Linked DNA regions of Homo sapiens: region 2 is linked to region 1. Evidence: promoter capture Hi-C in 16 types of primary human blood cells and fetal thymus (Javierre and others, 2016). All regions are on one chromosome and are shown on one strand. Each heading gives the region's core, a stretch centred on a gene start or on the middle of the fragment in contact. The rest is flanking DNA. Distances are from core to core; before and after follow the strand shown.

Evidence for each region. The method cuts DNA at HindIII sites, captures the fragments that hold promoters and counts their contacts. A CHiCAGO score of 5 or more calls a contact.
Region 2: a fragment that was not itself captured here is called in contact with the fragment with the promoter of SPATA3-AS1 in region 1 in 1 of 17 cell types (total B cells); the score reaches 5.8 in total B cells.

What each region holds. Positions count from the first base shown.
Region 1 is chr2:230,993,438-230,999,028 of GRCh38, forward strand. SPATA3-AS1 (SPATA3 antisense RNA 1) reads right to left here and starts at 2,595. Exons shown (of 6, transcript NR_033879.1): 1 at 2,411-2,595; 2 at 1,840-1,948. It overlaps SPATA3 (spermatogenesis associated 3), which reads left to right and starts at 2,684. Exons shown (of 5, transcript NM_139073.5): 1 at 2,684-3,097. The coding sequence starts at 2,797. RefSeq lists an enhancer at 2,195-2,728. The HindIII fragment of the contact is 18,304 bases long and covers 1-5,591 here.
Region 2 is chr2:230,142,679-230,148,323 of GRCh38, forward strand. No RefSeq gene overlaps it. Among named protein-coding and RNA genes, the nearest start is that of SP110, 74 kb to the right of the region's middle. The HindIII fragment of the contact is 1,024 bases long and covers 1,284-2,307 here.

The DNA of each region.
Region 1 (5,591 bases), core at 1,345-3,844:
AAGAAGAAGAAGAAGAAGGTGGGGGCTGCAGGGAAGACGTTCTAGCAAGGAGCTATTGAGGGACCATTCTTCCTCATTCTTCTGGGACAACCTCTTTCCACAGGTGCCCTCTCTCTGCTTCTTGGGACCACTCTTACTAAAGAATTCACACATATTTTTGCTGCTGCCACAGAGAAATTCCCCACTCCTCCCTCGGCCTGCCCTCTGTGCTTCCTCCATCTTTCTACAGGAAGACAGAGACTCATTCTCTGTGCCCTGTTTGGCTCCTTCTGGTAAAATGGAATATTTCTTTCATTGCTACCAGGAAGTTCTACCTATATGTGTCTGCTCCTATCTGATTCATTTACACCAACATGGCACAATCAGGGGCAATGTGGACACACACACTCCTACCCCATCTCTAGGGGACATTTAGCAATATCTGGAGACATTTTGGGTTGTCCTGGGGTAGGGGGGAGTAAAGACTGGGTAAAGACCAGGGATCTGGTAAACTTCCTACAATACACAGGATGACCCGCCACAACAAAGAATTACTCAGCCCAAAAATGTCAACAGGGCTGAGGTTGAAAAACACTGATTTAAACCAGGTTGAGGCCCTCGGCCGAAGCCCATTGGTACCTGAAAATCCAACTTTGCAGAGATTAATGCCTTAGGAGTTCCTGAGCTGTCTGCTAGATCTCAACAGGGTTCCCGGCCTCGGTTTCCAGTCTCTCTGATTCTAAATGGAGTCCCCTCAAGGGTTCCATTGCTCTTGGCTTCAGGAAATTACCAGCTTCATACAGATTCACTTGCTCCCAGAGCCTCCTTAGGCCAAGGTCAACCAAACACAACCCAATACTCTTGAGCTGAGCTTGCCTTCACTTCTGATCCTTCCTGCCTTTGTTTTCTTCAATCTTCTCGCTCAGGGACCTTTTTTTTTTTTTTGAGACGAGTCTCACTCTGTCGTCAGGCTGGAGTGCAGTGGCACAATCTCGGCTCACCACAACCTCCGCCTCACAGGTTCAAGTGATTCTCCTGCCTCAGCCTCCTGAGTACCTGGGACTACAGGCGTGCACCACCATGCCCAGCTAATTTTTGTATTTTTAGTAGAGACAGGTTTTCACCATGTTGGTTGGCCAGGATGGTCTCAATCTCTTGACCTCATGATCTGCCCGCCTCAGCCTCCCAAAGTGCTGGGATTATAGGCGTGAGCCACCGCACCAGGCCACTGGGGGACTTTTTAATTCATTATTTCAAAGCCTGTATAATTATCTGACTCCCTATTGTTTTCTGGGATCATGAAAATAATGAGCCCCAAACTGGAATTTAGTCCTTCCGATGCCCCCAGCCAGCTGTGTGACCCTGGGAAAGTAACTTAATTTCGCTAAACCTCAGTGTTCTGAGGAAAGGTCATCATTAAGGTATTTTTAGGCTCTAGAAGCCCTAAACTATGTCCTGTCATTTCAGAGTTCATGTTGGGTCTGGCTTTGTGTGGCCCAAAGCCCCCCATTTTTTTTTAAGACAGAGTCTCGCTCTGTCGCCCAGGCTGGAGTGCAGTGGCACGATCTCGGCTCACTGAAAGCTCCACCTCCAAGGTTCACGCCATTCTCCTGCCGAGTAGCTGGGACTACAGGCACCCACCACCACGCCCGGCTAATTTTTTGTATTTTTAGTAGAGACGGGGTTTCACCATGTCAGCCAGGATGGTCTCAATCTCCTGACCTCGTGATCTGCCCGCCTCAGCCTCCCAAAGTGCTGGGATTACAGGCGTGACCGAAGCCCTTTTTATCTGCATAGGTCTGCTCTAAACCTTCCGCTGGGGCAGGAGCTCCTGCGCTTGCCAGTCCCACACTCACCCACCTGTGACACACTGGCGATGAAAGCAGTCTCCTCAGGTGAACACATTTTATGTTGCAGTCACAGTATGAGCTTCAGATTGTCTTTTAAAAATACTTTTCCTTCTTCCATCCTAAAACAAAAATCACATTTAATGAGCACATTAAATTAATTAATCTAGAGAAAGATTCAGTCACCTGTTTAACCCAACCAATTGGGGTTTGGGAGATAGTCTGTGGTTGCCATTGCCATGAGTTTGAGACAAATGTTAGTTTTCTGAACAGCTGTTATGTTCTCAGGGAAAATTATCTGCCAAATGCAAAGGTTCTTATAAAAGTCAAGTCAACCCCCAAACTCCCCTCCCACAGTGCGGGAGGGCAGGCTTTGGGGGAAGGGGTAAGCTACTCTGAGATGGTAGCAGGCTCTGGGCCATGGTAAAGCCTTCGAAGAAGCTCCAAATCTTCAGGAAGCTGACCTGAAGATGAATGCGTGGGGAACATGGATTTTTGAGGTGTAGGAGTAGGGGGTATGTGGAAGCCAGTGACAGAGCTGAGCGTCACATCCAGGGTATCTTAGAGCAAAACAGGTAGCTCACATGGACCCAGGAACACGCCAGCAGAGAGGTGTCTGAAGGCAGCGCTCAGGTCGCAGAAGCATGAGGATCTGGCTGTCACCAGCCCCGTAGCCAGGGCTGTGAGGACCAGGGCAGCCGCTGTCCCCTGCCTAGCCTGGCAGCCTGGGATGAAGGAGGACACCAGGCTGGTGTCTGCAGAGAAGACTGTCCCTTGAAGCCCTGCCATAGGAGCCACCCTGGCTTTTATGACCTCACAGGAGGTGTGGGTCACTGTTCTCTGTGGGGCCTGGGTCCAGCTGGAGGCCCAAGCCAGGCTCCTAGGGCAGAGGGCAAACGGCCCCTCCAGGAGGGAGCCGGGAGATTACGCAGCTCCATGTAGGTCCACGTTTAGGTTGGGAGGATCTACCATGAAGAAGGTCAAGAAGAAAAGGTCAGAGGCCAGACGCCACCGAGACTCCACCTCCCAGCATGCTAGCTCCAATTCCACCTCTCAGCAGCCTAGCCCTGAATCCACACCACAGCAGCCTAGTCCTGAATCCACACCACAGCAGCCTAGCCCTGAATCCACACCACAGCATTCCAGCCTTGAAACCACCTCCCGGCAGCCAGCATTCCAAGCCCTTCCAGCACCCGAAATCCGCCGCTCCTCTTGCTGCCTTTTATCTCCAGATGCTAACGTGAAGGCAGCCCCTCAATCCAGGAAAGCAGGTGGGCTGTCTTCTAGCTTCAGCAGTTCCAGCCTTCCTGCTGATGGAGTTCTGGGTCATCCCAAAGGCTGGTTCTTGTAGGATAGTGATGCATGGTTAACGTGTATCCTGGAGCTGTGCTGTAGAGTGGGAAGGTTTTTGTTTTTGTTTCTACCCAAGAGACCAGGATTCCTGGGTTTTGTCATTTCTCATCATCCTGAGTCTCACTGAAGACAGCCACACATACATATAAACATTTAACTTGGTTCCATAGTAATACTTGCTCACTAGGAATCAGCAGTGCCATGCAACTGCTAAAAAATAAAAACCAAGGATGCATTTATAGAAGTATATGGTTTAGAATAAGGGAGGTGATGATACTGCTTTATTCTGTCCTCATCAAGCTATCCTTTTGGGCTGTAAAAGATGCCTGACAAACTAGTCCAAGGAAGATAGTCTGGGTTGATGGAGGATGAGAAGGATCAGGGAGACCATTTAGTGTATGACAGTCAATTGAAGGAATTGGAGGATGTCTGTCTGTCAAGTGGAAGATGTGAATAGACTTGTTCCTTATTGTCCTCAGAGATCTAAGGGTCTGATGTGGTTTGGCTGTGTCCCCACCCAAATCTCTTCTTGAATTCCCAGGTGTTGTAGGAAGGACCCAGTGGGAAGTGATTGAATCACGGGGGAGGGTCTTTTCCGTGGTGTTCTCGTGATAGTGAATAAGTTTCATGAGATCTAATGGTTTTAAAAAAGGGAGTTTCCCTGCACAAACTCTCTTCTCTTGTCTGCCGCCATGTGAGATGTGCCTTTCACCTTCCACCATGATTGTGAGGCCTCCCCAGCCACGTGGAACTGTAAGTTCCACAAACCTCTTTCTTTTGTAAATTGCCTAGTCTCAGATATGTCTTTATCAGCAGTGTGAAAACAGACAAATACAGGCCCATGGATAGGATAGCCAGACAAAATACAAGACTCTCAGTTAAATTTTAATTTTAGTAAACAACAAATAATATTTTTAGTATGTGTGTCCCCAGTATTGCATGGGCATCCTATATTTTTATTTGCTAAATTAGCAATCTTACCCATGGAAGACATTAGTGACAGAAAGCCTTCGGCTCAACATAAAAAACTTCCCAACAATTAGCTCTGTCTGAAAATGGAATGGCTGTCAGGAAAAGTGGTTCCCTGTCTTCTTGGGAGCCAAACAGTGTCTGTATAAGCATTGGATTGTGTAGAGGGAATTCAAGTGGAGTTCAGGAGGTGGGCTGGTTTATACTACTAACAATAATGGTGATAGCAAACTAACATTATCACTAAGCATTTACTGTGTACCTAGCATTCAGATCAGGTGTCTTAATTTTCACACGTGATAATCCTATAAAAGTTCTTCCATATTATCTCCATTTTATAGATGGGGAAACTGAGGCTCATAGGAGTCAAACAGGTTGCTCCTGAGCAGACGCTGGTAGCCCTGAGAAGGGAAACCCACTCTATTCTGACTCCAGAACCCTCACTTTAAACCACAGCACTGACCTTTCCATTCCAAGAGGCCTAGGAGTCTCCACAAGAGGAAGAACATCTCTGTCCGAGCATCTCCTGGATCTGCCATGAGCCAGTGCCCACGACTCCATAGCCTTGAACAGGCCACACTCCCTGGGCCACAGTTTACCCCCCGGGATTGTGTGGGCATAAAATAAATAAGTGATGGAGATGAGAGTGCTAAATATAAGGCATGCCATGCCAATGATCCTTCCATGGCCAGGAATCAAACCTTTCTTGACATATGATATTGATTTTGAGCACCATACTATATGTTGTAAAGATTGTGATCATCAGCCAGTGAGAGAAACATTTCTGGGTTATGATCTTCAGAACTGGCATCTTCAGTACTGGTAGAAAGCAAGACTTTCCATTCCCAAGTCTTTTAATGAACACATGTGACTCATACTCAGAGAAGAATTTGGCCCATTGAACAGGCAAAGCAAGAAAGCAAGAAATGGTGGTGGCTCGCCAGTGGTTACAGCAGACACCCTATACTTCTTCCAAAGGAATTCTCTGCGTAGAAAGGAATGTTGGAGATGAAGGATGAGGGCCTGCAAGTAAAGCGTGCCATTTTCTAAAATCCAAGCCTTTTTGTGTGCAGAAATATTGTAGCTCAAGAAAATGCCAGTCTTCCACTAGGATGGGTATAATCAGAAGGATGGACAATAACAAGTGTTGGTGAGGATGTAGAGAAGCTGGAATCCTCATACACTGTAGGCGGGAATGTAAAATGGTGCAGCTGCTGTGGAAACAGTCTGGTGGTTCCTCAGAGGAACATGAAGTTACCTTATGACCCAGCAATTCCACTTCTCAGTATACATCCAAGAGAATTCGAAGCATCTTATTAAGCATATTAGAAGCACACCAAAACTTGTACACAAATGCTCAAAGCAGCAGCATTTGTAATAGCCAAAAAGTGGGAACAACCCAAATGTCCATCAGCTGATGAATGGATAAACAAAATGTGGTAT
Region 2 (5,645 bases), core at 546-3,045, 850 kb before region 1:
AGAATCATCACCCTAGGTATTTTAAGCAGAAAGGACCTAATACAGGAATCAGATGCTGACAAAGTCCCTAGAAAGCTGAAGGAGTGAAATTGGGACCCCAAACCCCATGCCTGATTGATGTCAAGAGTAAACCACTGCAACCAGCATGATCTGGAGGTTAAGCAGCTGCCACCACCACAGCTCCTCCTGCCCCTTGACACTCATGCCTTTGTGAATTTGCTTGCCAGAAGAAATAGTGAGAGGGAGACGGCCTCCACTCCCTTCCATCTTCCAAATCTTACATCATTGCTTCTAACTGGTAGAACCTAAGTGGCATCCAGAACTCTAAAAGTAAAGAAGTCTTGGAAATGTAGTTCTGAGTTTCATAGATTTGGCAATGCTGGAAGTTACCACAAAAGGAGGGTAAAATGAAGATTGAATGAGCCAATCCATAGGATCTGCCTTTACTGCATTTAATTTTACCTACAGGCAACAACAGCAGCAAAAACAACAGATAGCATTTATTGAGCAACAACGGCAACCCTAACATGATGCGAGCTATTTTATAAACAATATGTCACATCCTCACAACAATTTTATATATAGGTATGATTATTTCTGATTTTAAAATGAGAAAAAGCTGAGGCTTACAATGGCCTTACATAAACCTAGGAGGTCGGGGCCTTCCCTTTAACATTTGTCTTGTACACTACTTGGCCCAAGGTGATCATTTCCTCACTGTTGAGAGTTGGGCCAATTGCGTGGGAGATTCAGGCCTCGATTCTCCACTGTGCTTTGGGTGTGGACACCTGGATCATGGAAGAAAGCCTTTTTCACCCATTGTTTTGATTACATTCTCCTGTCCTCAGGCCTTCCTTGTTTTCAGGCTCTAGTGGTTTCTACTACATTTTGACTTCAAGTTTTCTTGCTTCTCTCTAGGTGTTATAAGTCTTGCCCCTCTCCAACCCCAACTTTGAGAAAACAAAGCATCACTTTTTCTTTTCCATTGCTCAAGTATCTTTCCAGGGAAGGCATCAGGTCTTAGTACCTTTGTCCCCCAGGGGACCCAACACGGGGCCTGGTGGACTGTAGGCCCTCAGATTAAGAAACGGATTCATCAACCAATAAAACATACCTTTCTACAAACCCCTTCCCCATAAAAGCCAAGCTCTCTCTTTATTTTGGTTAACATTTTTTTTTTCCTGAGTCTGCTTGCTAGGGAACTGTTGAAATATTAAGCCATCTAAGAGCAAAGGATATCTTTGTTCCCCAGAAAGTAAAAGAAAAAGTAAAAAAATTTACCAAGCTTAACTTATATATAAGTCCTAGATCTAATATAAGTCATTTAATTTATCCTTAAAACGTAGAAAACTATTAAAACTCTATTTTCTGATCTCAAAGGTGACTTCTGCTTGTAACATTAAGTGCTAAGTGGTAGTTTCATACTTTCAAATACAAATTATCAATTTTAAAATTAAAAAAATTTTGAATTGGGAATCTAAGTGGTGTAAAAGTCAAAGGGTTCAAAATGATATTTAGTAAAAAAAAAAAAAAAAAAAAATCTTTTCCTCTCCATTTTCCCAGGTCTCCCACTCTTCTCTAAGAGTCAACCAATGTTAACAGTTCTTCTGTGTTTTCCTTAAGAGATGATCTACAAAAGGCAAAGTATTGAGAATTTATCATTTGTAAGATAATTTTGGTTTTGATATCATAGATTTAGATTGGAAAGTTGTTTAAACTGGTATTTAGAGTTATAATTTATGTCACAAATGAGAGTTCATGATATCAGCAATAATTAACTTCATGATGTGAAAATCCTGTGCACCCCTGGGAACCTTAAACTCTGGGCAAGATACAAAAGGGAAGGGAAGAGAGGAAGTGGTAGGTAAAGTTACTTGCAATTGTTGAGAGTTCTTGTAAAATGTTCGTTGCTCATATTGAATGGTGCAATGATAGTGAGTTTAAAGTCAGATAGTGTGGGAGGTTTGGGCAAATGTTCAGAGAAGATATAGCTTTCATAAAGCTCTAAGAATAAATTGCTTTAAGGATAAAATGTGAATTATCTCAAAATTTCTAAGTTCTTATGAATATTTTATTTACTATAACTGCAAACACATTATTTCTGCATGAAACTAATTCTGGCTTCTACGTAGATATGCTATATAAACACATATTGACTACTTTAAGAATAAACTTGGGCAAAATCTTAAAAGCAAGAATAGAAAAGTAGTAGTTCATAATACTCATCATAAGAAAATGTTGAATGAATTCAGGCCATTGTTTAGAAGAAGTTCAAGACTGTAAAATCAGCCATGCTTATGGATTTTAAGCTTTTTTTTTCTCCTCTGAGAAGGTCAAAGTCTGTTTCTGGAACTACCTGCCTGATGGCCATACAAACACATATATATGCAGTGGAGAGAAAACTGCACATTGGTGGAGGTGGGGAGAGGATGTCAGAGTGTTCTTGTGAGCCAAGAGGACTTACAAGTAGGGTCTGGCTTTGGGTTATTGGAAACGACCTGTCCAAAGGGCTTCATGCCAAAGGAAAGGGGCCTCAGCCGAAAGAGGCTGGAGGTTACTATTGGTAGCAGAGGATGAAAATAGAGTGAGAAGCACCTGGCTAAAGACAAGGATTTCCCAAGAGTCCAAAGGGGATAACTTAGACCTAGGATCCCACAGTGTGGTATAGAAAAGAAAGAATCACCGCTGGGAATCTGCCCTACGCAGAAGATGCAAATGTCATATTACATCTGCCTTTGTTAAGGATGGCCTTTCCTGCCCGTTTCATGTTCTTCCAAGCTCTGTTCCAACACTGAAGGAGTCACAGGTGGGTAGGGGAAGCAGACAAGAAACCTTAATTCCACCTGCAACCTTAATTCCTTCTTGTAATGCAGCACAACATAGCCATATAACACAGCCATAAGCTTTGTGGGAGTGGGGGGATGTTATTCTGCCTATTATATTTACTAAAATGAGATTGTTCTTTGGAGCTGATAATGACCAAAGGACTTTTATTATTTAGAATAACTAGGCAAAATGCAATTCAAAACCATAATGAGTTATCTCCTCACATCCATTATGACAGCCACCATTAAAACAAAACACAGAAAATAACAAGTGCTGCTGAGTATATGGAGAAATTGGAACACTTGTGGATTGCCGGTGCAGTTGTAAAATAGTATGACCACTATAGAAAACAGTATGAAGGTTCCTCAAAAAATCAAAAATAAAATTACCATATGATCCAGCAGTCCCACTTCTAGGTATATATCCAGAAAGAACTGAAAGCAGAGCTTGAAGAGATATTTGTATGTCCATACTCATTGTAGCATCATTCGCAATAGTCAAGAGGTGGAAGCAACCCAAATGTCCATCATGCCTCATGGATGAATGGATAAATGCAGTGAGATATATATATATATATATATATATATATCTCCTATATATACACCAAATTATGACATAATTTCCTTCCTTTTTAAGGTTAAACAGTGTTCCATTGTATATATATATATATATATATATATATATATATATATATATATATATATGTAATTTCCCAATGGCTTAAAGAAGGAACAAATTATTGGTAAATGTCTTGATCTTATTACATATTATAAGATATAGTATAAACAAACTATAAGTTGTGTGTGTGTGTATATATATATACACAATGGAATATTTATATATACACAATGGAATGTTGATATATATACACAATAGAATATTGATATATATATCTTATATATAATATATGTAACATGTAATTGATATATATCTTATATATGTAATTATATATGTATGTAATATGTGTAATCTTATATATGATATATATCAATATTATAATATATGTAATATAGTATGTAATAAGATATGATATGTAATATTGTAGTATGTAATATCTATATACACACAATGGAATATTGTTTAACCTTAAAAAATCTGGAATATTGTTTAACCTTAAAAAGGAAGGAAATTATGTCATAAGCTACAAGATGGATGAGCTTTGAGGACGATAATGCTAAGTGACATAAGCCAGTCACTAAAAGATGAATACTGTATGATTCCATTTATCAGAGGTGTTTAAAGTAGTCAAATTCATAGAAGTTGAATATAAAATGGCAACTGCCAGGGCTGGAGAGAGCAGGGAGAATGAATAGTTCTTTAATGGGCACAGAGCTTCAGTTCTCAAGATGGAAAAGTTCTGGAGATTTGTTTCATAGCCATGTAAACGCACTTAACGCTACTGAGCTATACACCTAAAAATGGTTAAGATGGTACATTTTATGCTGCGTTTTTTTTCCACAGTCTTTTGAAAAAGTGACTAGACAAAACTATGGGATCTCATCTAAGATTTCATCCTAGGGAGGTAAAGGTTGGATTTGAAAATAGGGTTTGAATGGGCCCCAGGAAAAAGAATCAAGCTGTTTCTTGCTTGCATACTAGTATGTCTTGCTATTTCAATATAAAGGTTACCAGTTAACTACTAACAAGATCACTATTCATCATTAAGAATCTGTTAATGGCTAATTTGAAAGGAAATTTTATTTCTAGTTGTGATATATAGGTATACATGTTACCTAAAGCTAAGTATAGTATAGATGCTATGTGTATATGCATATGTATGTGTATAGAGAAATTTATATTCCTGTCCATATATACAATTATAGGACCATTCTGGGCCAATTGAATCTAGACTATTTCCATGAGTTAAGGTCAGATGAACCTTAGTTGTAATTATTATACTTACAGTTTATGTAGCACTAACAATTTTTTAAAAATCAGAAACATCAGTCAATCATTTGCTTTGCTTTGGATATAAGGACTTTTTCTGCCCATGTTCTCACGTTATCTCCATATCTACCACCACAGATCTCCTAGTTAAAGGCAAATAACCACAACACAGGCAAAAATAAGAGAGCATGTGACTGAGAGACAGTGATATATTATTTCCATGGATCCCCAGGTGCTCATTCTTTTTACATTTTAATGTAAAATGTAAAATCTAGATGTGTTTTTCAAAAAGACTAAAAAGTGCTGTCCAGCTTCTGTGCCATGGCCTGTGCGTCTATGACCTCAGACATTATTCCAGGGAGCATCTTAGGGCAAGAGCAATCCCCTGATGTTTCAGTCAGCAGCCATTTACAAACCATTAGAGGAAGGAATGTGAGTCCAGGTTTTTGTTTGAAAATTCCTCATTGACACCTTGTTGTAATAAGATCAAGACATTTACCAATAATTAGTCCCTTCTTTAAGCCAATGGGAAACTCGAACTTCTCCTATCTTTTTGAGATTAGGTGAAGCCATGTGTACTTTTTTCATTGTCTATTCCTGTGTAATAAATCACCCTCCAAACCTAGAGGCCTATTATCTCACTGTTTCTGTGGATCGAGAATTCAGACAGGACACAGACATATGGGAGGTGCCTCATCTGGAAGACTGGAAGGCTGAGGGGCTGGGATCACCTGGAGGCTTGATGGAGGCTGGAGGATCCACTCTGAGGGACCCACTCACACACCCAGTGGGTTGGTACTGGCCAACTGGTTCCTCTCCACATAGGCTTCTCTTCATCTGGTGCTCTCAAAGGGCTGCTCGAGTGTCCTTGTGACATGATGGCTGGCCTTCACCAGAATGCACCATCTGAAAGTGGGCCCACACCAGTTGAA